7 separate regions of the Homo sapiens genome follow, and all the other regions are linked to region 6. The links are contacts of gene promoters, found by promoter capture Hi-C in blood cells and fetal thymus (Javierre and others, 2016). All regions are on one chromosome and are shown on one strand. The core of a region is centred on a gene start or on the middle of the fragment in contact, and the rest is flanking DNA. Distances in the headings are between cores, read along the strand shown.

Evidence for each region. The method cuts DNA at HindIII sites, captures the fragments that hold promoters and counts their contacts. A CHiCAGO score of 5 or more calls a contact.
Region 1: a contact is called between a fragment that was not itself captured here and the fragment with the promoter of FGF18 in region 6, in 1 of 17 cell types (erythroblasts). The highest score is 5.3, in erythroblasts.
Region 2: a fragment that was not itself captured here is called in contact with the fragment with the promoter of FGF18 in region 6 in 6 of 17 cell types (megakaryocytes, endothelial precursors, erythroblasts and 3 more); the score reaches 38.6 in megakaryocytes.
Region 3: a contact is called between a fragment that was not itself captured here and the fragment with the promoter of FGF18 in region 6, in 6 of 17 cell types (megakaryocytes, endothelial precursors, M1 macrophages and 3 more). The highest score is 19.0, in megakaryocytes.
Region 4: a contact is called between a fragment that was not itself captured here and the fragment with the promoter of FGF18 in region 6, in 16 of 17 cell types (megakaryocytes, endothelial precursors, M2 macrophages and 13 more). The highest score is 46.5, in megakaryocytes.
Region 5: a contact is called between a fragment that was not itself captured here and the fragment with the promoter of FGF18 in region 6, in 6 of 17 cell types (M2 macrophages, M1 macrophages, megakaryocytes and 3 more). The highest score is 8.4, in M2 macrophages.
Region 7: a contact is called between a fragment that was not itself captured here and the fragment with the promoter of FGF18 in region 6, in 1 of 17 cell types (endothelial precursors). The highest score is 5.1, in endothelial precursors.

What each region holds. Positions count from the first base shown.
Region 1 is chr5:171,789,562-171,793,499 of GRCh38, reverse strand. SMIM23 (small integral membrane protein 23) reads right to left here. Exons shown (of 4, transcript NM_001289970.2): 2 at 3,219-3,270; 3 at 2,951-3,018; 4 at 2,364-2,705. The coding sequence ends at 2,412. Among named protein-coding and RNA genes, the nearest start is that of SMIM23, 5.7 kb to the right of the region's middle. The HindIII fragment of the contact is 1,495 bases long and covers 1,679-3,173 here.
Region 2 is chr5:171,847,651-171,851,710 of GRCh38, reverse strand. It overlaps LOC107986476 (a long non-coding RNA gene), which reads left to right and starts at 3,593. Exons shown (of 3, transcript XR_007059052.1): 1 at 3,593-4,060. The HindIII fragment of the contact is 687 bases long and covers 1,542-2,228 here.
Region 3 is chr5:171,866,161-171,870,321 of GRCh38, reverse strand. It overlaps FBXW11 (F-box and WD repeat domain containing 11), which reads left to right. Exons shown (of 14, transcript NM_001378974.1): 12 at 515-593; 13 at 1,526-1,712. The coding sequence ends at 1,687. Among named protein-coding and RNA genes, the nearest start is that of SMIM23, 82 kb to the right of the region's middle. The HindIII fragment of the contact is 6,340 bases long and covers 1-4,161 here.
Region 4 is chr5:171,899,277-171,903,399 of GRCh38, reverse strand. FBXW11 (F-box and WD repeat domain containing 11) reads left to right here. Exons shown (of 14, transcript NM_001378974.1): 5 at 3,300-3,486. Among named protein-coding and RNA genes, the nearest start is that of FBXW11, 110 kb to the left of the region's middle. The HindIII fragment of the contact is 821 bases long and covers 1,580-2,400 here.
Region 5 is chr5:171,916,824-171,920,516 of GRCh38, reverse strand. All of the region lies in intron 2 of FBXW11 (F-box and WD repeat domain containing 11), which reads left to right. Among named protein-coding and RNA genes, the nearest start is that of FBXW11, 88 kb to the left of the region's middle. The HindIII fragment of the contact is 3,007 bases long and covers 264-3,270 here.
Region 6 is chr5:171,418,262-171,422,093 of GRCh38, reverse strand. It overlaps FGF18 (fibroblast growth factor 18), which reads right to left and starts at 2,447. Exons shown (of 5, transcript NM_003862.3): 1 at 1,863-2,447; 2 at 1,651-1,687. The coding sequence starts at 1,894. RefSeq lists silencers at 1,941-2,020, 2,081-2,130, 2,271-2,380, 2,501-2,610. The HindIII fragment of the contact is 2,658 bases long and covers 1,225-3,832 here.
Region 7 is chr5:171,827,587-171,831,354 of GRCh38, reverse strand. The region is part of intron 1 of LOC105377725 (a long non-coding RNA gene); the gene reads left to right. Among named protein-coding and RNA genes, the nearest start is that of SMIM23, 44 kb to the right of the region's middle. The HindIII fragment of the contact is 9,856 bases long and covers 1-3,768 here.

The DNA of each region.
Region 1 (3,938 bases), core at 1,177-3,676, 370 kb before region 6:
ATTTTATGAATATATTTATAAATGTATCATATACAATATAAACATATAAGTATATATAATATATAAATATAATATAAACATACATAACTACTCTATGGCAATATGTAACTATAAATGCAAGCAAATATCAATCAGACCTTTCCCGTAGAACTCTTGGTGAAATAGCTGGAAATGTGAAAAAATAGATTCTGGTCCCAACCTCCTGCCAAATATTCAAAGTGGAAAATTGGGATCATAATTTGCAAAGACTTTTTCCATCCCAAATGGCAATTGATTAATCCCTCCTGGCAAACAAATTGCTGTGCCATCCCCTGTAAGTCAGATGTCCTCTGAGATTAGTGTAATTGAAACCCTCATCACTATCCAAAGATTTGAGGTGGTTCTAATAATTGGTACATGTATAATAGCTCCATCAGAATAGAAAACAAAAAAGTCATAGAAAGGGGAAAATAAATAACCCAAAACAATGAGGCTGATAAAATTCCAGTAACAAACAACTATAAGTTTCCTGGAGGTAATAGGAAAAAGGGGAAGTCCTAGATAAAAAATGATCATTGTTTAATCAAAATAAAGTAATCAAAAGAGAAGGGTTTTCTTTTGGGACTGTTTTTAAAAATTAATTCAATCATAATTTCATCATAATGATACTGTTATTTTTGCTTATATACATATATTCCAGTTCTTGTCTGCATGCAAAATAGAAATTTGTTTTTAAAAAATATTTGAATAAGCAAAACATTCACATAGTTTGAAAACAAGAAAGTATGAAAAATATATGCTGAAAAGTTTCCTCCCATCCTTGTTACACATCTCCCAGTTTCAAATCCCCTCACTCCCAGGCAGGCTTGTATCCTTCTAGAGTTTTTATGCATATTTAATAACGTCATTATCATCATCAATATCAACAACAAAATATATATTTTTATCTTCTGCTCCCTTTTTGCACCTTAATTTTTTTTTTTTTTTTGAGACGGAGTCTCACTCTGTCACCTAGGCTGGAATGCAGTGGCACAATCTCAGCTCATTGCAGCCCCTGCCTCCTGGGTTCAAGCAATTCTCCTGCCTCAGCCTCCCTAGTAATTGGGATTACAGGTGCATGCCACCATGCTGGGCTAATTTTTTGTAATTTTGGTAGAGACGGGGTTTCACCATGTTGGCCAGGCTGGTCTCGAACTCCTGACCTCAAGTGATTCGCCTGTCTTGGACTCCCAAAGTGCTGGGATTACAGGTGTGAGCCACTGTGCCTGGCCTATACCTTAATTTTTTTCACTTAACTACATATCTTTCAGGCTTTCCCATTTTAGCAGAAGGAAAGTATCAGTCCATGTGGGCAGTTAAAATACCTTAGACTGCATAATTTGTAAATATAGACATTTATTACTCACAGTTCTGGAGGCTTGGAAGTCCAAGATCAAGGCACCAGCAGATTCAGTGTCTGGTGAGCACTTATTCCTCATAAAAGGGAACTTCTAGCTGTGTCCTCACATGGTGGAAGGGGCAAACAGGCTCCTCAAGCCTCTATTATTAATATAATGGCACTAATCTCACTAATGAGGGGAGAATCCTCATGACCTAATCACCTCCGAAAGGCTCCAGCTCTTAACACTGTCACATTGAGTATTAGGTTCCAATATATGCATTTTGGGGGTCACCCATATTCACACCATAGTAGAAAGCTTCCTCATTCTCTTTTATAGCTACATGATTGTTCATTGTCTGGCTGTACCATAACTTATATAACCAGAGCCCTCCTGGTATCATTTGGGTTGCTTCCATTTTTTTGCTACTGCAAATAAAGCTGGGGTGAATAATCTTATACACATGTAATTTCATGTGTGGGCAAATGCAGCTGTGGGATAAATTCCTTGAAGCAGATTGTTGGGTCAAAGAGAAAATGCATTTGTAAATTTGATAGCTATCACCAAATAGAGATTTTAGGAACGTATACTTCCACCAGCAGAGTCAGAGGGTTGAATGCCGCATAATAGCCACACACTTAGCCAGAGCTAGTATCCTCTTACCACACTCCAGGGAGGAAGGAAAAGGCATGTGAGAAAGGAAGAGCTATTTATCCGATACCTGCTCTGTGCCAGACGCACTCTGTATACACACCCTACATACATTGTCTTCCTATAAGGCAAAGTGTGTTTCCCCGATTTTTATATGTGAGGAAACTGAGTCTCAGGTTAAGGAAATTTACACAACGTCTCAAGAAAGTAGAAGAGTCCTGAACCTATGGCTGGCTCTGAAGCCCGTGTTTGTTCCAGGGGGCCACGTCATGGTGCCAGGGAGAATATCTCAGCCGGGCTCTGGTGTTCCGCCAACGCTGTTTCTGTCAGCATTCATGAATGTGAACAGCGGACTTCATTTCCCAACTACTTTATTTTCTTGCCTGACTGGAACTTCAAGAGTCAGAGCTCTGCCCCGCTTAGAGAAATCTCTAGCAACCCCTCCCCACCTTTGTGCTCTCTCCCCAGGGCCCAGGCCCACTCCCACAAGTGACTTTTATATGTGGAGCAGTGCTCCTCCTGGTGTGGCTCTCCCAGAAGAGCATCCAGCCACAGTTCCAGGTCCCACGCTAGCTGCTCCAGCTGCTGCACCTCTTCCTCTAACTTCTCCGAGAAGACATGCAACTTCTCCTTCAGCCAGTTCCTGATGGTCTTTATCGGTTCTTCTGAGGGCTCGTTGGTCTGATATTCAAGCCCCTGGAAGGCAGACACAGAAGTGGCATCCTGTGCTTTCTCAGATAGGACCCTCCTCCCCATCCCCACTGGTTTCAAAAAGATCCCTGGGCCTTTGCACATGCTACTCATTGTGCTCGTAGTACCTGTTCCCACCTTCTGCACTTGACAAGCGACTACTTATCTTTCATGACCCATGTTGCCAATGACACCTCCTCTGGAAAGCCTTCCCAGATTGCCTCACCTCAGTACCTTGCTGGACATGTTACCTGGGGAACTGCAAGATTCTGGTAGTAGTTACATTCTCTGATCCTTTCTGACACCTCCCAACTGCTTCCTGAAACAGGCACAAACATCACCTCTGAAGAGCAAATGAGCACTAATTGAAATAAACATGGTTAGTTATCCCAGTGTGATGAAGGGTCAGTGGGAGAAGGTGGGTTATGGAGGTCCCCTTAACATACAACCATCTTTGGAACACTCCACCAAGCTTCATGTGGATTTGGTTCCTTCTTTCTCAGATTCCAGAATGCTCACCCCATATCTCTGTGCTCAAGTACAGCACCAAGATCAGCAATGCCAACAGCGTCTAGGGTGCAAGAAGAGGAAGAGGAGGAAGAACATGAGGATGAATTCTCTCCAGGTCCCCCTGCTTCCATCACAAAGGGCCAGACATGGGAATGCTTATAAGACAGTTTTTTGAGTTTAACTTTTGTTCTAGTTATCTAAGTCACACTTACTTACTACAAAACTCCCAAACTTTGAAGAAATAGATAACACTGCAACTTACTGATGTTCAATTTGCATTTTCTCTCATGTAAACATTTTTCATTTTAATTGATCTTGAAAAGGAATCAACTTCATTGTGGTATAATTTACATATAATAAAACGCACACATTTAAAATGTATAGTCTGATGAGTCTGATGAGTATTGATGAATGTCTATACCTGTAGACTATCACCCCAATCAAGATGTAGAGCATTTCCGTCATCTTAGAAAGTTTCCTTTTGCAGTCAATTCCATCCTCACTCCTGCCCTGCCTGGAGAGAACCATTAATCTGTTTTCTGTCACTGTGAGTAGTTTTGCCTGTTCCATAACCTTGTATAAGTGGAATTACACAGTGTGTGTGCTTTTGCATTTAGTTTCTTTTGCTTAAGACAATGTTTTCGAAATGCCTCTATTTTTTTGTGCTCAATTTTATTGATGAGTATATTGTGTATTTTATTGATGAGTATTTATTTTATATGAACATAG
Region 2 (4,060 bases), core at 636-3,135, 430 kb before region 6:
TAAGGCACAGTTCTCCTGCCAAAGCGGTTGGTCTCTTTCCACCGTCACCTGGTTTCCCTGGATCAGCTATTACATCTCATTAATATCTTATATTTCATTTTCTTTGTAGTTCCCTTGCAATGTTTCCCAATGTGTGTCCTGTGGGACAATAGTTCAGTGGAATATTAATTAAGTATTATAGTGCAAAGGGATTCTGAGATCAAGTGAGTTTGGGAAATAGCAAGTTAAAGAAAAGGAAGCAGGTTTATTTGCTGAGGGACTTATCAGAGCCTTTCATGTGTTCATGGATGTTGTTACCATCCACAAAGGTAACAGGGGCTTTCGTGTTTCCCACACCTTTTTGACCTTGAAATCATTATTTTTTCCCCTTTGAGTATCTCACAGGACTAGTGTTCTGAGGAGCAGTACACTGAGAAATGGTCCTCTAGACAGAGAGGAAATGCTGTCTTCCCCCTTTATTGGCTATGTGGGATTCGTATAATTTGCTTATTTGTCGGATCCATTATTGCTGGGTGTGGGAGAGCAGGCATGTGTTAGACTGTCCATCTTCAGAGAGGTTTCCTGCTCTTCCTGTTCGTCCAGTAGTTATGGGCTGTGATTGTTATGGTGATAGCAGGGAGGCTGCAGACCCCAGAGGGGATTAGGCATATCTGTGTGTAAACTTTGGGCAATGTCTTTCTTTCAACTGGGCTTGAATCACAGCATTGCATACCCTAAGAAAACATCATGAGGTATATAAAGTTCCCATACTCCCATTAAGTGGCCTGGTTTTCGTCTTTAAGTATGGTGGGGCTGGTAGGAGTAGAACACGGGATGATGTATCACTTCTCCTGGGTTTCTCAACCTCAGCACGACTGACATTTGGATGGGATCATTGTTTGTGGGGTCTGTCCTGTGCCTTGTAGGATATTTGGCGGCATCCCTGGCTTCTACCCACTAGATGTCAGTAGCACGTATCATCCCTCCTGCCTCCCCATTGTGACAACCCAAAATGTAGGCAGACATTGCCAAGTGTCCTCTAGGGGACAAAATCCCTCTCCCATTGAGAACCACTGCTTTAAGAGAAGATTACCCAAAGTCTGTGCAAGGCTTTTGGAATACTCTTGGAAGGATTTTTATCATACTCTTGGAAGAAGGAAGTAGTGCTATCATGCTCAAAGCATGGTCTGAGAGCCTATAAGACGTGCCAGCTAATGAAACTCTCCCCTGGGGTGTTTTCGTAACTCATCCTTAAGGCTCGTATATCTGTTGAGTTTCTTGGTTGCAAGTTACAGAAAACCCAATCCAAAATGGTCTAAGCCAGAAAATGAATTTTTTGGCTGTGGTAACTGAAGAGTCCGACACAGTGCTAACTTTAGGCACAGCTGGATCCAGGTGCTTAAGCAGTGTTATCAAGAAACAAGAATTTTTCCAAATCTTTGCTCTGATTTCCTCATTATTGATATCATTCTCAGACAGGCTCTTCCCATGTGGCAGTGAGAAAGCTGCCAGCAGCTCCGGCCTACTCCTCACTAGAACAGATCTGGTGGAAAGGGAAAGCTTCTCTTCCCTCATGGTTTGAATGCAAGTCCTGGATCTGATTCCCATTGGCCTGGGATACTACGCTATTCTCATTAGCTGTGCCGGGTTCACACGCCTGTCCCTGGAGCCTGGGGAGGAGCCAACACCAACGGAACCATTTGGTGGGGAACAGGAGAGGAATGGTTCTTTAGAGGCAAACGGGGCAGTTACTTGAAGAGAGGTCAGCGGATGCTGGTCAGACAAGCACCTCTATTGCCTCATTCATAAAAATAACTAAACGACAGCCAATAACGGCAGCTCCCACTTGTCGAACATGAATTCTGTACCAGACCCTACCTATACTGCGTGATCGCTAATCACCACCAGCATCCTGAGAGGCAGCTGTTGTCAACCTATTTTACAGATGGGTAAGTGGAGTCTCAGAGGCAGATGAAATGACTTGGCTGAAGTCACAGAGTGGGGCAGTGGCTGAGCCACAGACCGGAGGCATCCTTTTACCTCCTCTAGGACACCCTCTGTAACTGACTTTCTTCCTGCTGCAATCCAAAAGGTCTCCCAAGGTCGCCTGTTGCTATTTTGGAAAGAGGTGGACAGATACTGGAGGGCCACTCTTCAGGCCACTGCCCAATCTTTTCTTGTCAATTTGATGTCAGCTTGTGCCAATCATCCCTGAAGGGCCATTCTGACACAGCAAGTAAGGGAAAGCTTGGCCGGCGTTTTCTGGTTTGGCTCTGTTCTGCCTGCTTGGTCCATTTTCCTCACCTCCGTTTTTGCCCGTTGCCGCTGTTTTTATCTTCCATCCCCCCAGGGAGCCTGCAGAGGGTGCATTAGTAATAAAGCTAACATTTCCAGAGAGAGAGAGAGATATCAAGGAATTTCCATGACATGATTTCATGAAGTTTTCTCAAATATCATATCAAGTAGACACTACTATTATCCCCATTTTACAGATGGAGCAACTGAGGCCTGGAGAGGCTAGAGGACTTGCCCAAGGTTGCCCAGCCAGCAGATGGGAGAACTGGTGTTTGAATCCAGGCAGGACCCATTGCTTTTATTACGGTACCAAAACTTCAGAAAATTGCAAACCAGTGGCCTGTGAGTCAAATCTGGCTAACAGATATATTTTGCTTGGCCCACATAGTATTTCAAAACCCATTTGAACTCATTGCCAATGTTTAAAAATTGAGAACCTGCACATCAAAAAACAAAATTTGTTCTTTTCTGCTTCTCTTGAAAAAAAAAAAATCAGAGAAGATTGGCACCACTGGGCCTACATTCCTGCCTGGCAGAGACCGGCTGGAGCTGCAGCTCAGTCCCAGGTGCCTGCTTTGGGTGGGGTGTGTTCCTCCAGCTGGATGCAGTCCCCACCACTCCCTAATACCTTCCCAGTGCTGAGGCCGGTGTCATTTGCTGTGGCTCACTGTGTGTGCTCTGCGGTGTCCCTTGCGCCCCTCCTGGCTTACCTGCCTGGCTCTGGAGGGCACATGGGCTTGCTGCTCCTCCCCCACATGCAGGAGCTCCCGCCAGCCTCTGACCACAGTGGTTTGGGGTTGCTGTAATCTCTCTCCACACATTCAGTGGAACGGTCTTCTGCTGGTGAAGGTCTGACTTAGGCACTAGAAGAGTTGGACAGAGCCCCAAATTTTCCTTTCCTCCAGTACCCCAATCCCACCCCCTCCCACACTTTGGTTTATTGGTCAGCAAAGGCCACTTTCTTGGCAGTGTTTGTCTTGGGTACACAACCACTTTTTCTTGCTCCCCGCAGAGCCCCCTAACGTTTTCTTCCTAATCCTCCTCAGGAGAACCATCACTCGGATTATCATGAAACCCGAGCGTGTGCGCATGAGGTGCGACCCTTTACAACCGGCGGACCATCTCGTTTCTGCCCAGTTCTGTTTGTTTAAACTCTTTGCTGGCAGGACCCCAGCGCAGGGGCAGAGTTCCATGGCGTTCACAGGCAGATGTTCTGGCCTGTTGCAGGGACCAACGTTAAAAGCCGGGGCAGGAGAGCTGGTGGCCGGAATCCAGGCCCTGGGGGCGGAGGGCACTTCACGGAGGAAGGAGAGGGAGTTCAGGGAGGGAGTTCAGGGAGGAGAGGGATTGGGGATGAAAACAACAGCTCACTGTCCTTTTGCAAATGGAATTTACAGGCCCCATTTCATGCATGAGAACACTGAGGCTTAGAGAGGTGGGGTTACTTGAACAAGGTCACAAGGCTGGTTAAAGTAGGGAAAATAAATGAAATATTTTACAGTTCATGGCATAAGAATACGCCAGTTTCAGGCATGTAGATGATGATGATGGTGGTGGTGGAGATAATGATAATGATGATGACAGGAACTGAAGGGCACAATTAAGGCCTTAAAGATCTCCTGGATGTGGTCACTGTAACCTGTCAAGGCATGACCTGGAATCTTTTACAGCATGGCTTCTCTCCTAGAATCACAGAGTGGCCAAGAGTGAGGACGTTGACACTACACAGACCTGGGGCAGACCCGGCCCTGCTGCTGAGTGGTTGACTGGCCCCAGGTGAGTTCTG
Region 3 (4,161 bases), core at 905-3,404, 450 kb before region 6:
AAAACACCTCACTACATTTTAAATGAGCAAATGGCAACTGTAAATCTTTCCAGATGACCTTATATATACTTCCCAAATGGGTTAGTTGGTCTGTTTGTACTCCTATTACTAACTTCCAGCATTTGCTTAATTTGGAGAAAGGTATCCTTGGAATTTCACACAGAGCCCTAGCTTCTGTCAGCAGCACCTACTCAGCCCTAGAGAGTCCCCTGATGAATGAATTTGGTGACATAGGTTATCAAGTCCGGAACTGAATTTAGATAACCTGAAGTTGTTTTCTTATCTCCCTTAAAATAATATTTCTTTAAAATTTCAGCAATTCTGAGAATGTGTAGGTTCTTAATTTTTCCAAAATCAAGTGTAATTGGTTCAGATGATTTGTAAAAACATAAGCATGTTCCCCATTAGCTTTTATAAATAGGCAGTTCAGATGCACTACTTTTTTTCAAGGAAATGTTTGACAGCATATAAATTGTTCACTTTTCCACTAATCACATCTCATTTTCCTTTCTAGGAAAATTAAAGTTTGGGACTTGCAAGCTGCTCTTGACCCTCGAGCCCCAGCAAGCACATTGTGTTTGCGCACATTGGTGGTATGTGATCTCTTGAGACGGGAATTGGTTCCCTGTGCTGGAGGATGACCATTTGCAGATAGTCCTGTCTAGGTGTATCACAGGAACGCTTGTGTGTCTCACAAGATGCCTTCAGAGAATTTCAGTCTTCATTTTGTTTAGCCAAAACCAGAGAATATTTGATGTTTACATTACTGTGAGCACTTTCCTAAGGGGAGACATAATGCAGCTTAAGATATGAAGGCAGGCTTCCTGATTTGTAGGTGGACTGGTTTCCTCATAGGGCAAGCAATATTTCCTTCTTGTAGGTTTGGAAGATTTCTTAATATGGCTATTTGTGGTTATGTTTTAATAACAGCACATTTTTATACTATATATAAATTTTTATACCATTTATAAGTACTGTTATATTTTTGAAGAGATAGTCATTTGGAAATATTGGTAGATTTAAAAAAGATTTTAGTAGTTTTATTTCTGTTTCTTCACTTCTTGCATTTACTAGAAGATGCAGAACTGTCTTCTTGATTTTAATGGGAACTCTTATATTATTATTTCACCATGAATTTTGATGCTGGCAGCAATTTGAGGTAGATCCTGGTCATGTTAAAACAAACTGTCTTTCTGGTTCTAGGTTTTCCAGTGGATTTTTAGAGTGTATCAAGAATGGGTATTATGTATTGTTGTTTACTTTTATAAGGCCCTTTTTGAGATGATCTTTGAAATATTGGTAGACTAGAGTCTAAGATACAAAGTTTAATGAAAGAAAAGGCCTAGCAGGAAAAGAAAGAAGAACATTTGTTCTTGGGATGAAGGACACAGTTCAGTGAGCTCTGTACAGTCGTTTAGGAAGTCTGTTTAAGTGGCTGCATTTTCATCTTCTGCCCAGTTTCTCATTGTGAGATATCAGGGGCTGTAAAGATCTCATTTTATTCATGAAGTTTTGTATTTCATAGGAACATTCTGGACGTGTGTTTCGGCTCCAGTTTGATGAGTTTCAGATCATCAGCAGCTCCCATGATGACACTATTTTGATTTGGGATTTCTTAAATGTGCCTCCCAGTGCCCAGAATGAGACCCGTTCTCCCTCCAGAACATACACTTACATCTCTAGATAACAGTCTGCACTTTCACCCGTTTCAGGTGAGTACTATCCTCTCCCCTTCCAATTTTGCTGATTGAATTCACCTTCCCTTTGGGGAAATTTTGTGATTTGGGTTCCTTGGTGATGTGTGAACCAAGGTCTCTCTTAGACGTGTCAACTTTTGCAGAGTTCAAGTGTAAGGCTGGATCTTTATAGTCACATCCATACAAGGCTTGAGTTGGAATCCTGCCTATTGTGTGGGTTTTCATCTTGGCAGATGATGAACATGGTTCCTGTTTTTAAAAACTGTTCCTAAATGATTTCTTAGGTCATAATCAATTTAACACCAGTAAAATGTCTTGAATTTTATTTTGGGGTACAAGAATCTTCTTTTTCTCTTTCTTTCCTGTCCTTCAGTTCTTTTATTAAAAAAAAAAAAAAAATCACCATCTGACAAAACATTCAAAATCCCTCTCTTCCCCACTACCACAATCCACCCACCACCATCCTTTCCTCAAGGATGAATCAGAGAAGAGTATCTGTTGAGAGACCCCTAAAACCTATTCTGCTTCCATGAAACACAACAGATACACTGAGAAGCAAAGTCCTTTCCTCTGGTTACAGGAACACTGAAAGTCATTATAACCATTGATGACAGAATGTTTTGATTATTACTAAGCGTGTTCAGTCTGGAAGATGAGAAGTCTTACTTGGCTGTGTCCTAGGAACTGATGACTTAGGAACAGTATTGACAACTCTGTGTTCTGCTGAGGGCCAGTGAATTCTATACACATTAAACTTTGTAGATTGAATAAATGTTTACATATAAACATACTACTATGGATATATGTATATAAAGACTGTTGTGATTAATAAAATTTGTATTTATTTAAAATCGTTACTTAATTCTTAGTGGTCTTTTATCATTACATATTTTCCTGTTCATTGAATTTCAAAAGTATAAGAAAGTCCATGTGCAGAATTAGGAATTTTTTTGATGGAGAGATTGAGAACTCTTGGTACCTATTCACTAAGTTACCATCTTTTCAGATACTCTTTCATCAAGATTCCAAGATCCAATAAATAGAACTCCACCAGGAAGTTTGTCTTACCTAGAGGTCAAGAAACTATATAACCAGGGGCCAAAATTAACTCACTACCCGTTTTTTTTTTTTTTAATTAGTCTCTGCTTATCCATTAAGTTTTTTTTTTTCCTGTCTCCACAGGCTAAGAATAGTTTTTACATTTTTAAATGCTTAAAAAAATTAAAAGAATTTTTTTCATGACATGCAGTAATTAAATGAAATTTAAATTGCAGTGTTCATAAATAAACATTTGTGCTACACAGCCATGCTCATTCCTTTATGTATTGTCTGTGGCTGTTTTTGTGCTTCAGTGGCAGAGCTTAGTAGTTGCAACAGAGACCTTATGGCCTACAACATCTGAAATATTTACCATATGGCCCTTTCAGAAAAAGTTGGCTGACTTCTGGTCTTGCCCCTGCTCCATCTATTAGCGGTAAACCAAGGGTCTACATCAGGAATGGCAAATAAGTGTTTTCTTCATGCCAACTCAGTTTGGTCAGTAGTGACTGGTGGGTGTGTTGCCTTTGGAAGGATTCTGGGACCCCACGTGGACCCCAAAGGACTGGTTGTGGTTGGTTATGTCTGCCTTGCAGGAGTGACCTGTAAGCCACTTACCTATTTGCTATTATGGGTCTCGAGTGTGTTCAGACTGTTCCTGATCATAATCTTCTGCCCTGCTGCTTTCTTTCTGGATAGATGCTTCATAAGTCAGTTGAAAAATCCACGTGGCAGAATTACTGTAATTATTGAATGGAGCTTTAAAATAGGAATTACAGAGGAAGGAGACAAGGATCTCTTGAGTGATTGCTCCTCCCCCTGACCTCCCCTCCCAATAAGCCTAAGAAAATATAGGGAAGGAGGAATGGACCCAAGTAAAAACTGCTTAAAGAGGCATATGGCAAAATTCAAGACATCCATATTATGGTTTTCTTTTTCTGGTGTATTACAATAGATGAACTGACAACATCTATATATTACCTAAAAGTGCCCTGAACAAGATTCCTTTGGTTGAGAGATGAAGCAGTGATCACCAATGCTGTTTCTTATTGGCTGTGGTAGAAAGGAAACTTGTGTTACTTCCTCCAGGCCCTCCCTCCTACCTACCTTTTTTGGAAACCTCAGAACAACTGCCTAGTTGTGATCAATTATAAGTCAATGGAAAAATCTTATCTGCTTAAGCTGGAGGTTCCCTGTATCCCAGCACAAGCAGTGAGACCACAAATGTGTTTGTCTCTTCAATTTTATTACTTTTAACAACCTTGGCAGTCAACTTTATAGATTTTACTGCTCTTTTCTAATTTTTTTTTTTTTTTCCCTTTGAGACAATGTCTTGCTCTGTCACCCAGGCTGGAGTGCAGTGGTGCAATTTTGGCTCACTGCAACCTCCGCCTCCCAGGCTCGGGTGATCCTCTTGCCTCAGCCT
Region 4 (4,123 bases), core at 741-3,240, 480 kb before region 6:
GCAGCCAGGCGCAGTGGCTCACGCCTGTAATCCCAGCACTTTCAAGACCAAGGCAGGAGGATTGCTTGAGCCCAGGAGTTGGAGACCACCCCGGGCAATATAGTGAGACCTCATCTCTACAAATGATAAAAAAAAATTAGCTGGGTGTGGAGGCATGTGCCTGTAGTCCTAGTTACTTGGGAGGTTGAGGTGGGAGGATTGCTTGAACCCAGGAGTTTGAGGTGGCAGTGAGCCATGATTGTGCCACTGTACTCCAACTTGGGTGATAGAGTGAGTCCCTGTGAAACCTTTGAGAATGGTACCAAGAAGACCAAACTCCAAATAATGTTAAATTGTCCAAAATGTTGAAGTAAATTGAAAGAGTTGAAAACAAAATAATTAACTATTTGGAGCCAGATTATAAAGGATGAAGGGATAGTGTGCTTAGAATAGATAGTATAGTGATAATAGAAAGAAACAACATATTTTCACTCCCATTAACCTAATCCCACCATCCCCCCAACCCAAGAATAATGGCTTTAAAACAAAGGTTAGCAAAGTTGTGTTTGAGAAAGATGTGAAGATATTTAGCAATCACATAGCTCCTATAGACAAGTAGGCCTAAATACATTGTATGCCTGGATAGTGGCAAAACCTGTGGTTGTGATTTTTCAAATTGTAGAACATTGTGAAGCAATTGAAAATCAGTATGCAGAACTATTGGGTACAATTGTGCCCTGTACAGCTTGTACAGTTGCACATGGTAGTCTTGCATGATAGCACCAGAGATGATTGATGAGCAGACTTCCTGGTTTTAAGAACTGGAGAAGGTGTTTTTGGGGGATTTAGCTATTAAATTTGATGTTGTGCTTTAGCAGAATTCTTAGATGAGTTTCAAAGGCTAATCAGCCTCTGAAAAGATTGTGTATGGTTGTGTAAACCTAGAAGGATGTATACAGAATGTGAAAAGTGGTTCCCTTCTCTGGGAAATGGGGTTTAGGGATTTAAAAATTTTTGCTCATCTACACTTTATAAATTTTCTATAATGAACATGAACTAGATATGTTTAAAAGGGTTACCAAGCAGCTAGTGTCAACATGTAAGTGAAAAATTGCAATACAACTTTATGTAGTAAACCCCAGCACGGGAACATGAAAGCAGCCATACCCTCCTCACCTTATTTCCTTTTTGGATAAAGTTACCAGGCTAGTAGGTAGGTCTGAAGAATGATGTAAATAGATGGTAATATCATCATCTGCTGATTTTTCCAAATACCTCCGAGGACAGAATAGAGAGATATGGACTGGGCAATGGCACATATAGATGACTACAGACCGGATGTCGCAGTGTGGGTGCCCTGGGCATATTGATGCGGCATCAGTGCTAGCTTGGAGGGAAATATTATAATAATAGGTACTAATAGCTAGTGTCATGGGTGCTGTCCTTGGTTCTGACCCGTTTAACGTGTTTGCCAACATGGTTTAACATGTTTGCCTTAGTACTTTAGCCCATCATGCAGGTCTGGTGTGGAATACCCACTCTTCTGGGTGTGACAAAAATCAGAATTCTAGAGACTGAAATGGATGGGTCAGACAAAGCTTTGAAGGTGAATTATAGTAAGGATAAATATAAACCGCACAAAGCTGCCCCCCACCTTTCCAACTAGCTGTGCAAATAGAGCATTCGGGGAAATTGTTTCAATAGATGTTTTTGGGGGAGAGGCCTGGGATTTTATTCTAACTTACTGCCATCTTAGGCGTCTTCTGTGATATGACTATCAGATGAAGGCAGTGCAGCCTTTGACCACATTAACTGTAAATGACATGCAGGAAAGGACAGTGGTCCCAGTGTAGTCTTTATTCTTAGACCATAGCTTGGGTCTTTGATCTAGTCCAGAGTAAGAGAATTTTAGTATATGAAGGACCTGGAAATTATAACCAATGGTATAATAATAGTCATTCTTAGAATTGAAGGAACTTTAGTTTGTAAAGCATTTTTCATGCATCATCTCATTTTGATATTTTCAGAATCAAGTAGAGATTATCGTAATCTTATACAGATGAGGAAACTGACTCTGAAAGTTTAATAATTTACCTACATCTGGCCTTTCAACAACCAAGTTTAGTGCTATTATACTACTTCTAATTATTTTGAGAAAAGAGAACAGATATTAACCTTGTAGAGTGCTTGTCTATAAAATGTTTTCATAAAACTGTTGAATTTGATTCTGACAGACAGTGTAAGAAAGGATAGTTGTTACTGGTGATTACCATTTTGTATGTTAGGGCACAAAAATTCAAGGCACAGGGATGTTTCAGTGTTTGTTTCATGTCATAGAACTAGTAAGTGGTGAACCTGGGACTTGAAATGGGAATTTTCTGATGATAAGTTCTGTGTTCTCGTCCCTACACAGAATAAGCTTGGGGAGAAGCTTTATTTCTTGCAACTGTAGAAGACATACTTACCGCCACAGGATGGGAGTTTACAGGTGGCAACAGTGGTGGCCATGTTGATCATCTTCCCATTGTGAATGTCAGGCAGAGGCTGAAAGTGGTTTTCTTTGAGAGTATCCTTGTATCGTGGGAGGTTGAAGCCAATGACCTCTAAGATTCTAGGATTTGTAGACATGGGGCTATTGCTTTTGAGGATTGTCCCATCTGTTTAGGAACAGAAAATGGATACTCACGAAAGGGAGATGAAAAGATTGACAAAAATACATTTAAGCACAATCGACTTTAATTCTTGGATTGCCATTTAACTTTTCATAAGTTTTTCAAGATGAGTCGGTGTTTTGCCTTTTTTGTCTTCTGATCTCCCAGGGATTCACACCGGGTATGGATTAATGGGGATATGATTTGTTATGAGAGACAGTGAGTAAGATGGGAATGAACACAAACTTTGAAGCAAGAAATCCGAGTTCCAGTAGTAAAGCCAAGGGAGTGTAAAATCTTGAGTTCTTTACCTTTCTGTGCTTCATCTGTCAAACTTGGGGCGTCATTGCCCTATAGGAGTGCTGTGAGAGTTATATAAAAGAAAATGAAAAGTCTTATCTTAATATTTGACAAATAACAGAACTGTCCAAGGTCAGCTTTTACACACAGAGAAGAGTTGCTATCAATTGTTTTATCGTAAAAAATCAGAACCAAAAAGAAGTGTATATGTTTATGTACTCATGGATTTGAGTATCTGTAGAACTTTTGATATGACTAAAATATTTTACTTGGTTCAGGATTTCTTTATTCCTCTTATCTTTAAGGAAATGATGGCTGGTACCTTTCTATCTCTCTTCCCGTTCCTTCATTCCCTTTTCTGTTTTGTAGAGCAAGGCTTAGATCACATAGCAGAAAACATTCTTTCGTACCTGGATGCCAGGTCTCTGTGTGCAGCAGAGCTGGTATGTAAAGAATGGCAGCGAGTGATCTCAGAAGGAATGCTTTGGAAGAAGCTGATTGAACGAATGGTACGCACTGATCCCCTATGGAAAGGACTTTCAGAAAGAAGAGGGTGGTAAGTACTTGGGTTGCTTGTTCCCTTGAAAAAATTTTATTGACATAGAGTCAGCTTGATTACTCAAAAATGCAATTATACTTGCAAATGTGCTGGCCTATTTTTAAAAAGGGGGGAAAATGAGTGGTCAAAAGTTGGAAGAAAAAGTTAAAGCTGTTAAAATTTCTCCCTCTGAAATGTGTATTTCCTTTATGAACTGTATTATATAGTTTGATGGGATTTGGCGTTTCAAAGCTATGTATTTATGTTTTTTCCTTCACATTTTGCTTAGTTGATGATACCATTACCAAAATATAGATATGACAAAAATATGAGAAAGTCAGATAGTGCCATTTTGCTGTTTGTTATTACTGCTGGTTGAGGAAGTAATAACAGTGATAGGATTTTTCAGAGAAAACTCATAACTCTGATGCAGCTTTATAGCTAGCTGTATGCTGTATGGCCCAGTTAGCAAAGAGAGAGAGCTACAGACAGAGGTGCATATAGGGCTGTATTTTCCTTACGGGAGGAAGTTTGATGTGTACTAAGTTAGATTTTTCACAAAGCTACATTAGCGCTTTTTATTAAACTCTATGGAATGAAAGGCTAGATTGTTACATATTAGTACTCAGAAAACACGATCAGGATTTTGTTAGAG
Region 5 (3,693 bases), core at 518-3,017, 500 kb before region 6:
TCGCCTCAGGCAGTCCTCCTCCCTCGGCCTCCAAAGTGCTGGGATTTACAGGAGTAAATCCACTGTGCCCAGCCCTTCAGGGTTTTTTTTTTTTTTTTTTAAATAGCGGTGTGGAATTTGATTATGCTTCCCATCCTCCTTCACCGAACATATCTGTGATCAGTTGGCATGAAGTTTCCAAATCTGACTCTGAGGATAATGGAGACCTGACTAAATGAACTAACCAGACACCATCCAAACCAGTCATCCCTAGAATGGAAGCTTACGCTACTTCCACTTATGTTCAGAATTCAGTTTATGAAGACAGAGTAACTGTGCCTGTGTTTTCTCTTCTTTTCTTTTTTTTTGTTTTTTGAGACAGAGTCTCGCTCTGTTGCCCAGACTGGAGTGCAGTGGTGCGATCTTCGCTCACTGCAACCTCTGCCTCCTGGGTTCAAGAGATTCTTCTGCCTCAGCCTCCCAAGTAGCAAGTAGCTGAGACTACAGGCATGTGCCACCATGCCTGGCTAATTTTTGTATTTTTAGTAGAGATGGGGTTTCACCATGTTGGCCAGGATGGTCTCGAACTCCTGGCTTCAAGTGATCCGCCCACTTCAGCCTCCCAAAGTGCTGGGATTACAGGCATGAGCCACTGCGCCCAGCCTGTGTTTTCTTTGTGATGGTGGGAAGAGTGTCTTTGAAACAAGATTAGGATCTTCATTGTGCTGCAAATAGCTATAATATATATGCAGTCTAACTGGGAAGGTAGTGTCTTACAGAGTCTAGCTTTGAATCTTGGTACTTTTTGATGTGTAACCCAAGGCAAGTTGTGTAACATTTCTGAGCTATGGTTCCCCCAATGTGTAAAACAGGATATAGGTGCTATCATACAAGGTCATCATTAAAGGTAATTTATATAAAGTTTCTATCACAATGCCTGACCATCATAGGCAATCATTAAATAACAATTATTTTCTCTATTCTTCTTTGGAGCTACTTGATAAGGTATATAGTTGGTCATGTTTTTAATATCCAGTGAATGACTGGTTTCATAATTTTTCCTTGTAAAAGACACCCAGGAACAGGCGTTAGAGTATTGTGGTATTTGGTAGTTATGAAATATCACATATTGGGATGGAGTCTGTCATGATACCATCAGTGCAGCTTCCTTACTTAGGTTGGTGCTACCACATGGGCTGCATCATTTTGCCATAGCAATGATTTTTGAGCAGAGATAGATCAGAATTACTTGGAGAACTTGAAAGGAAAACGTATGCCTAGGCTCCATCTGCTCCATGATCAGCTGTATATATATGGCTTCCTGTTATTTATAGTCCTCATTCATGCCCCAAGTCCATGGACCTCTAGTAAAGAACCACTGATAACCATGGTTTTCCAAATATGAATTTAATGGCAAGCAGGACGTAGCCCTGAATTTAGATATCAACATACTTCGTGAATTACCCTACCATGGCGAGGTCAGGATGTATGTGAATAGCATCACAGACTGTCACACGGGCCAAGGAAAGATGGCTAAGGAGAAAGAAGGGCCAGGCCTGAGATGGTAGTGCCTTAGTATATTCTCCCACGGTGTCAAGTTTAGGAGCCCACATCCCTAGAGCACTGGTTTTCAAGTGGAGAGAGTGATTTAGCCCCCTTCCCTGGGACATTTGGCGATCTGGAGACATTTTTGATTCTCACAGTTCAGAGGGTGTGGAATGCTCCTGGCACAGGCACTGGCCAAGGATGCTGCTAACCTTCTATAATGCACACAGCAGCCCCACAACAAAGAAATATCCATCTCAAAATGGTAATAGTACTAAAATTGATCTGCCTGAGAGTCTAGCTTCTTCTTCCTAGGTTATATCTTTGATTGGTAGTAGTATCAGAATAATAGGAGGGTCTGCATTGTAATCTATTTACGTGTGATGCTCCTTGGTAGACATAAGAGGAAGGAAATGATGAGAAGGGTAGAAAGTAAACTGGTTGGTATTTCAAATAACTTTTCCTTCTCATAAGTGTTGGAGACTTAAAGAGGATTTCAACTCTCAGATTGGCCATGGTTTCACATGAGAGTTTGGATATAGGAAATGACCTTTCTTTTCTCTTGGGAAGCTCATTGTTTTTTCTTACCTCACCCTTGAACCTGTGACCTTTTGTCTCTTGCCTTTAAGGAATAAAATTCAAAGTGATTAAAAAAATTATAGCTTCCATAAGAGAATTTTCTATTTTTGCCATCACCACTTATTCCTGCGACCCTGTGTACGGATTGAGTATCCCTTATCTGCTTGGGACCAAAAGTGTTTCTGATTTTGGAAATGTACAGATTTTAGAATATCTGTATTATACTTTTGGAATTAGGATTTTTGCATGTGGGATGCTCAACCTGTAGCAGGCTGAGAAAGATGATGGGGAATAGGAGAGGACTGTATTGTATTTAACAAAGTGGGTGTTTCCTTTGTCTCCCAAAAGTATTTGGTGAAGAGAGAGGAAGGAATTACGCCAGGCTGTTGCTCTAGTCCAGTGTTTGCCAATATGTGCTGAGCTATTATTAATAGATATTATTATAAAATGGGGGCTGTCCATGTCCAACAAACTTGGGAAAGTTGGATTAAATGAATTTAACCTAATTTTAAAATAATAGTATATTATAGAACCTTTTGTATCTTAATGGAGTGTATTGTAACTTCTGAGAGACATATATATAAAATATATCTCTGAATTGAATATATATATTTACACACACACACACACACACACACACACACACAGAGTGAGTCTAGAGTGCAAGGATGTGTATAGCATTTCTCTAATTTCTAAACCTAATTAGACTCTTGGATGCTTTTTTCTCCAGACATCTTTTGCATTGCCTGGAATCCTCTGGATCCTCTGGTCAGTGTAACTTGAGAGCAGCATTTTCCCTTTGGTGTCTTCTGAAACCTTTATAAAAGAAGTGGAAAAGTATGTAGGATGGGAGAACTATTGCAGCCCCCATGGTTTTATTAAAAACAATTTTATTAAATTGTATGTCTAGCCTTCTTTATGAAGCCTTAAGGCAATAGCTGCTATTTTCTTCAGGGGGTTGTTTCCTTATCAACCATATAAGTAAACATCATTTCTCTGTTTTGGAATAAATGAAGAGTGAAATTTTCTCACTGTGAAGAGTTGTTTCATGTATAGTGTACAGGGAAGTCTGACATTTCTTGTGTTTCCATCTTAAGTAAAGAAAATATTAAGGTGGTTTAGGTCACAATAGCTCTGGAGGATTCTGGCTCCTATATTTCAAAAGCTTTTAGTTTAAAACATATATACATCTCTTGGCTGGGTGCAGTGGCTCATGCCTGTAATCCCAACACTGTGGGAGGCTGAGGCGGGCAGATCACGAGTTCAAGAGATCGAGACCATCCTGGCCAACATGGTGAAACCCTGTCTCTACTAAAAATACAAAAATTAGCTGGGCATGGTGGTGTGTGCCCGTAGTCCCAGCTACTTGGGAGGCTGAGGCGGGAGAATCGCTTGAAGCCGGGAGGTGGAAGTTGCAGTGATTTGAGATCACACCGTTGCACTCCAGCCTGGCGACAGAGCAAGACTCCGTATTTAAAAAACAAAACAAAACAAAAAAACCCCACAAAAAACAGAAAACAAAACAAAACCATATATACATCCCTCATATGTTTCCTCTGCAGTACCTGGAGACATGGGGTGGGGACTGAC
Region 6 (3,832 bases), core at 1,198-3,697:
CATCCGCAGGCCTCCCTGCTACTCCTTGCCCATTTCATCCCTCCTGCCCCCAGGCACAGCACTCTGGAAAAGAGCTCTTGCCCAGGTCAGACAAGCAGACCCCCTGGAGTGACCCCAGGGCCTGCCCTCTGCTTGGGGACTCAGCTGCAGACCAGGCAGGCCATGCCTGGCACTGGCCTCCCTCTTTGACACCAGCCGTTCCCCACCCCCACCCCCATCACCACACAGGTCACATCTGCTTTGGCAAACAGCCAGTCTTAAGTTACTGACTCCAGTTATATTGATTCAAGGAGTCACTGGGGACCCCAGCCTGGCCAACAGGAGGAAAGAACCCATCAGTCCGTCCACCCTTCCATCCCCAAGCCCCAATGGATGCCCCCAGCTCAGTGCCTATCAGGAGGGTAACAACCCTCTCCTGGGCGTGGAAGGAAGATAGCAGGCCCACCACCGCCAAACACTGCGAGTGGCTGTTGAGTCGCGCAGTGCTCAAGGCACACAACACTCCTTGAGCCAGAAAACCGGGAGAACCACCAATTTCCTGTGCTCAAGGCTAGCTCTGGGGATCTCCACAATCCAGAAGGCTAAGGTCTAAGAATCTTCTCTAATCCCGGAAAGCCACCTGCCTTCCACCGAGGGGGAAGGGTCAGACAACCCTCTTTTGACCTGTGTCCAGTTCCTCCTGGCCTGGCCCCTTGCAGCACTAGGTGGGTGGGGGCTTGGGGAGCTGACGCTTCCTATTCCCTTTGCCCGCCGCCCCCCGACCCCCACCATGCAGAGGCAGCCCTGGTCTGGTTCTAATCGGGGCTGAAGTCGGCTCCCTTTTTCGCTCTTCTCTCTCCCTCCCCCCAACCCTTTTTCCTTCATTTCTACGGCTTTGGAAGCCAGAGCGTTCCAACTGTCTGCGTGCCAAGACCTTCCCGAGTCTGAAAGCTGCTGAAGTAACAGATCAGATTTTAGCAAGTGCTTTCCAGGCCGAGCGCCAAGCCCTCTTCTGATTCACGGAGAGCGAGCGAACCGGGAGCAGGCGGGGAACCAACGAGGGCTGCACCACCTTAGGCGAGGGAGTGCGGAGCGCGGCCCATCCGGGAGCGGCCTCGCGGGCAGCGGCCACTCGGCCTAGGCGCCCTCGAGCTTCCCCTCGTCCCGGGCATGTGTGTGTGTCTGTGTGTGTGTCTCAGTGCTGCAAGCGCCTTCAAAACCACAGAGTAATTTACAACTGAAGCTTTCTCCCTGGACTCGAAATCCACTCGGCTGAAAGTCTTTTTGTTTGGAAGCGGCGATGTTAAGGGAAGGTTGGCAGAGAAAATCCCTAGGTCCTACCCCTCGCTGGCTGCGGGCAGGGGTCTTAGAGCTGGGTATATTGTTGCGGCTGAGCCCGCCGGCTCTGCGGGATCTCCTCCCAGCCGAGGCCGACAGTGGCCGCGACAGCCAGCGCCTCCTCGGGCCCCGCGGCAGAGCCCCTTGCCCTTGGCCGGTTCCCCGCCGGCGCAGGGCGCACGCGGAGCCGCCCTTCCGCGCCCTGGGAACAGGTGCACTGGGCTCAGCGCCCAGGAGGGGTGGGGCACAGGGAGGGGGCGCGGCCGGGGAAGGGGGGTCGGCGTGTACCGCGAGGCAGGGGCGGGAGGAGGTCAAAGTCAGGAGCCCACGTACCTGTACCTGGAAGCACAGCAGCAGGAAGTGTAAACACCTGCGGGAAACAGATGGAGAAGCGGTCAGTGGGACCTGAGGAAGGGGGCGCACGGACAGACAGACACGCAGTCGAAGAGTCAGGTGAACCGACGGGCGGGCAGACAGAGGTACAGGGCACAGGCATACGGACAGACAGCCAGGCAAGGTGGGCAGCCCCGCGCGCGGGCGCTTACAGGCAAGTGCAGGCGGAGGGCGCTGAATACATCGCTGGGCGGGAGGGAGGCGGCGGCTCCTAGCCCAGCCTGCACATGTCCGCTCCGCGCGGCCGGGACCGGGCGCCTCCGCCGCCGCCGCCGCCGCCGCCGCCGCTGCTGCTGCTCCCTCCTCGCCGGCTGCTGCTGCTGCAGACTCTGCTGCTCCGGGGCGCTCCGCGGCGCGCCCTGCGGCATCAGCGCCCCGCGCGGCTCCTCCCGAGCGCTGCGCCCTCCGGGCTGGCGCAGGGGCTGCGGGGCGGCAGCCGCTGTGCAGGAGGCGCCTGGCCGGTGCGGGGAAGCTCGCTCACTGCTGGCCGGCCGGCCGTCCGGGCGTCCGTGGGAGGCTGGCTGCCCGGCTCAGTCCGGGGACAGCATGCGCGGCGGGTCTGGAAGCCGAGTTGCGCTCTCCGGCCCGGGCGCGGAGCTGCGTGGGGCCAGGGGTCAGCGCTCCGGGGTCGGGGCGCGCGGCTGCAGCGCGAAAGCGTCACGGCCGCTCCGTCTGGGCGCCCGCCGGCTCATGTCTCCTCCTCCGCGTCTCTCCGGCCGTGCGCATCGCCGCCTCCCACCACTGGCGGCGGCCGGGGCGTTTTCTACGCGCGGGCGGCGAGGGGGCGGGGGGCCGGGGGCGGGCCCGGGCCCGAGCCGGCACAATGAGGATGCGGGGCCTGGGGGCTCCCCCCTCGGGGCGCGGCCGGACGGGCGCTCAGCTCGCCTGGGTGCGCCCAGCCCACATCAAAGGCGGCCCTGCCTGCTCGCCTGCCTGCCGCGGCCTCTCGCTGCCTCCTCCTCCTTCTCCTGGCGGCTCGGGGTTGGAGGGGAGGCGCTCAGACTCTCGGAGACGGGACCGGCAGCTCCAAAGGGGCAGGACCCGCGAGACTGAAGCTGGTGAGCGCTGGAAGCCGTCGGAGCTCTGCGCCCGAGCGCAGTGACCGCTCCTCCGCGCAAACGTTGCCCAAATTGGGCAGGCGATGCTCCCCAAGAACGCAGTTAGGTACGGAACGTCCTCACCTGCCCACATTCGCTACTCGCACTCACTCACCAGCGCTCTAGTGGAGAGCCGAGAGGGGCGGGTCAAACCCAGCCCCGGGGCGGCTCCACTGAATGGGGGTCGCTTTTACCCGCCCTGCGATCGTGGAGTTTCCCAGCCACCCTCTTGACTGGCTACCCACTTAAGTGAGCCCCCGTCCTCTTCTTACGTCCCTGCCGCTGCGAAGGGGGCTCCCGGGCATCTCTCCTTCCCACCCCTCGCCCCCTCCGGGGCTCTGGGGTCGGTTCACGGGATCCCAGCTGGACTCTCCCGTAGGCGAGCCAGCTTTGGAAACACACGGCTACCACCAAGCGGCCCCGAGACGTCACTGCAACCCCAGCACGGACGGCTGCACGCCGGGGAGCAGCCAGCAGGACTCTGGTCAGCGACCACGCTGAGGCCCTCTTCCGGCCTCCTCCCAAAACCGGACTAAGACTTGCCTCCGTTTGCATACTAGGCAGCTTCGTTCCTTTAACCAGGGCCCCATTCAGGACACTGGTTCTTACCGCCTCTGCCCCTTCCAGAGGCATAACTCCTGTCCTTCCCACCAACCCCAAAACGTAGGTGTTCTTGTCACGTACCTGCCTCACTGTCTAGAGCTGGTGTCAGCCAAGCTCTGCTTGAGCCTGATGCTAAGGAAAATAGGTCACAGTGAGAAAGACGCTGGAGGACAGGCTCAAGCAAAACTCAGGAATCTGGACTATTTGGTTAAAGCCTCCTTGCGTTGGCAATGGTTGATGGTCCACTGGAGCATAAACTGAGGTAGGACTGTCGAACAGTGCTATTTGCTGAAGCCATGACTATAAAACATTAGTAATTGTTCCAAATATCAGGCCTCCTTGCAAGCTATTTTAAGTTCCCTTTCAAAGCTGAGGCTATTTTAAACAGATAGCCTCTGTTTCAACATCGGACACAAGTGCAG
Region 7 (3,768 bases), core at 123-2,622, 410 kb before region 6:
AAATGCATGAGAAAAGGTCTGGAAAGGTGCACACTAAACTGATAACAGGAGATGAGGGGAGGGTAAAAGACTAGAGTTGAAGGGTGAAGGAGTCTTCAACTTTGTATGTAATATTTTTGTTATTTTTGAAAGAAAAATGTTAATTGCCTTACTTATGTCATCTGAAACTATTTCTTTTAAAAACCTTCCCTGGAAGCCTTGTCCAGCAATTTTCCTTAGATTGTATTGGCCAGAACTGGGTAATATGGCCACCCTTGGCAGCAGAGGTGTCTGGGAAGGTGAATATTTTAACTTTGCTGCCAAGAAAATTAAGGAAGAAGGTTATGAATGGCTTTTAGGTGGCCGATTAAAAATGTCTGCCATAGTTCACCCTTTTAGTTACCCAACATCCACTTGCTTTTATTTCTATACATATACTTTATGTACAGTCCAAAGTCCAAAGGCAGTTACTGCATCCATCTTGAAACTCAGGATCTCTGAGTAATAATGTGCAGTCCACTCATCAGGACAAGATGTGGGAGGATACTTCCTGCTTATTACCTTAGCTACAGCTGAAAGATATTGGGGTTGCTGTCTTTTCTGGGGACTGCACATTTCTTCTTGGTAGAAGTTTGATCCCCAAGGATTATTTTTAGAGTTGAACAGTCACAGGCTATCATAGATTGTTTGGAAATATACATTCCTCAAAAATGTAATAGAGATCCAGTCTTTGGTTTCAGAGACTTCCATATGTAAGTAACCACAAAAGATTTTATCTAGACAGAGTAGGTAAGCCTAAATGGTTTTTTTTTTTTAACCCATTGTCTCTCTCTGTGCCCTATCCAGCCCTTTAGCCCTTGGTTTATTGGCTGATTCTTCAGGGCAATTTAAAATAGCAACCTTGGGTGGAGAAACATCTCCTTTAATTTGATCTTTGTGTGTTGGTGCTCCCTCTTTATTTGGCAGGAAACTCTTAAGGGAAGGTACTAGACAACAGCTTTGGCACTGATATAATTTCCTGCTAACACTGTGGCTTTATGGCTGTTGTTTGTGCTGTTACTTGAGCTTTTTCAACCCACCAGACTTCAAATTATGGGATTCTCAGTCAATTTAGATTAGAGGTTGTAGTCAGATAGTGCCTCCCTTAGCAAAGCTGTATCTTTTCCACTGGCTTGAAGAAGACTGGCTAGCTCTTGTTGGCAATCATCTCTCTTGTAGGACTCTGTTAAAATAGTAAGAAGTGGCCAGCATGGATTAATACTCTGGAATTTTCAATAATTTCTTTGTACTCCATATCCCTAATAGATATAATGTCTTAAGGCAGAGCAGGCAGCACTTTGACCAAATGTTTGCAACTGCATAAGAATGTTCATCAGCTTCTGTCAGTAATAATCAGATCCTTCTTCTGCCATATTTTAGGTTCTGTTACTTTCATTACCCTACTCCTTGTACCAATTAAAAAATTTTTTTTAATCAGAGAAGACTTTTAGTTGTGCATGATAGAAACTGACTCTGACTTAATAAGCAGAAAAAGAGCTTAATGAAAGAATAGCAATAATGTAGAATTGTTGCAAAGGCAGAAGAATCAGGCTCAAGGCTAAGTTTCCAGAAATAATATTCCTAAAAATGCTGGAGAACTGATCTGTTGAGAAAACTGTGGCCATTGCTACTACCAAGCACTAAATTCTGTATCTCACAATGCTGTCAGGAACTCAACTTCAGTGCAATGAATACTGCTGCCAGCACTGATGTTATTTCTGTTCTAGTAATTTCACTTTTAAACTACTACCAACACCCTCACAACCAGATGTTTCTGGTGCTACCTTCTCTAGCAACTTGGATTTTGAGAAGAGCCTCCTTTTCCATGTTCTTACATTATATTCAAAGTCTACATGAATACATCTTGTTGGTGGCACCTAGAATAGACTAGCGGCTAGGTGCAAAGGGGGCTAGAGAAATAAGTTTTCTGAATTCTACCTTAGAGAGAAAAGATTCATAAGGCTGAAAATTCCATAAACATATTAAGAATGTTCAGCAAAGAACACGACAAATCTACACATCAGCTTTATTCACAGGCTGTACGTGGTGTCTGCAAAAGTTTCAGGCTCTTCTTTTATGGTGACAAGAGGGCTGAGAAGCTCCAAACTCACATCAAGTTCAATCCCAATGGAAAAAAGTAAGAGTTTCCCCCTTACCTCCACAAAACTTTTGAGATTCACTTTAATTGGACTGGTGAGGTCAAGCACTCATCCCTGAACTAGTTCAAATGGCCCAAAGCATGATGTGCCTTATGGGCCAGGATTGGGTTATGTGTTCTACCCCTGAAACAGGGATTTTTATCCAGAACTCATGGCCTGAGAAAGGAGGGGAGAACCACAAACAAATATTGGGAAATGGGGAATGGATTCTGATAAAGAAACAAATAAAGAAGAGTTAATGTCTTCCATTCTATATAGAGAGCAGGTCATTTTGCCCATGTCTTCTAAAACTTCCTCTGAACAATTTTTTCAGTACAAGAAATATCATTGATTGATTGGATTTATGGGTTCCTATCTTATTCGACAGGTTACAATCAGTTGCTATCCTCATTTATTTGATAATAAAATTGTCCCAGATTTGGGCAGTGAGAGCCCCTTCACCTTGAATTCTGTATCTTTTTAGATGAGTCCCTATCTTTCTCTAAGCACTACTTTATGTTTTGGTAAAAGATAAATCTTAACTTTTTCTGGGCCAGCCCTGGAATCAGTCCTCATTGAGTCTGTGATTTTATTTTACCCTACCTACAAGCTAATAAGAGACTATTAGTATTTCATGGATGTTGGCAGAATACATGAGACTCCTGAGTCCAAGGCAAAGGACTTTATTACTTATGACACAGGAAGTAACATGAGCAATAGCATAATTCATTGGTTTTTCTGCACCCCAGTCTAGGGGAGCAACGTGATATGACCTGGATGGATGTCATGTGTGGAGTGTGTTTGCATGGCAACAAAAGAACACCGAGCTTGAGGAATCCACCACTTTTTTTTTTTTTTTTTTTTTTTGATAAAGGGTCTCACTCTGTTACCTAGGCTGGAGTGCAGTGGCACAATCATGGCTCACTGCAGCCTTGACCTCCAGGGCTCAGGTGATCCTCCCACCTCAGTCTCCTGAGCAGCTAGGGCTACAGAGGTGCACAACCACACCCAGCTAAGTTTTGTTTTTTGTAGAGACAGGCTTTCACCATGTTGTCCAGTCTAGTCTTGAACTCCTGGGCTCAAGCGATTTGCCTGCCTCGGTGTCCCAAAGTGCTGGGATTATAGGCATGAGCCACCACGCCCAGTCCGATCCAACAATTTTTTTTTTTGAGATGGAGTCTCACTTTGTCACCCAGGCTGGAGTGCAGTGGCGTGATATTGGCTCACTGCAACATCTGCCTCCCAGGTTCAAGCAATTCTCCTGCCTCAGCCTCCTGAGTAGCTGGGACTACAGGCACGTGCCACCACGCCTGGCTAATTTTTTTGTATTTTTAGGACAGACAGGGTTTCACTGTGTTAGCCAGGATGGTCTCGATCTCCTGACCTCATGATCCACCCACCTCGGCCTCCCAAAGTGCTGGGATTACAGGCGTGAGCCACCACCCCCAGCCCAGATCCACCACTTTTATAGCAAACAATAAGCAAGCCTAATCTTTATTCTGGAAGGAGACATTACTTGCTCTGCAAAGTTGCTCACTGCAAACACAATCGTGATATGGGCCTGGGAAGGAGTAATCAGGTCTTCCATTCTTGGCACACCAAGCAAGAATGT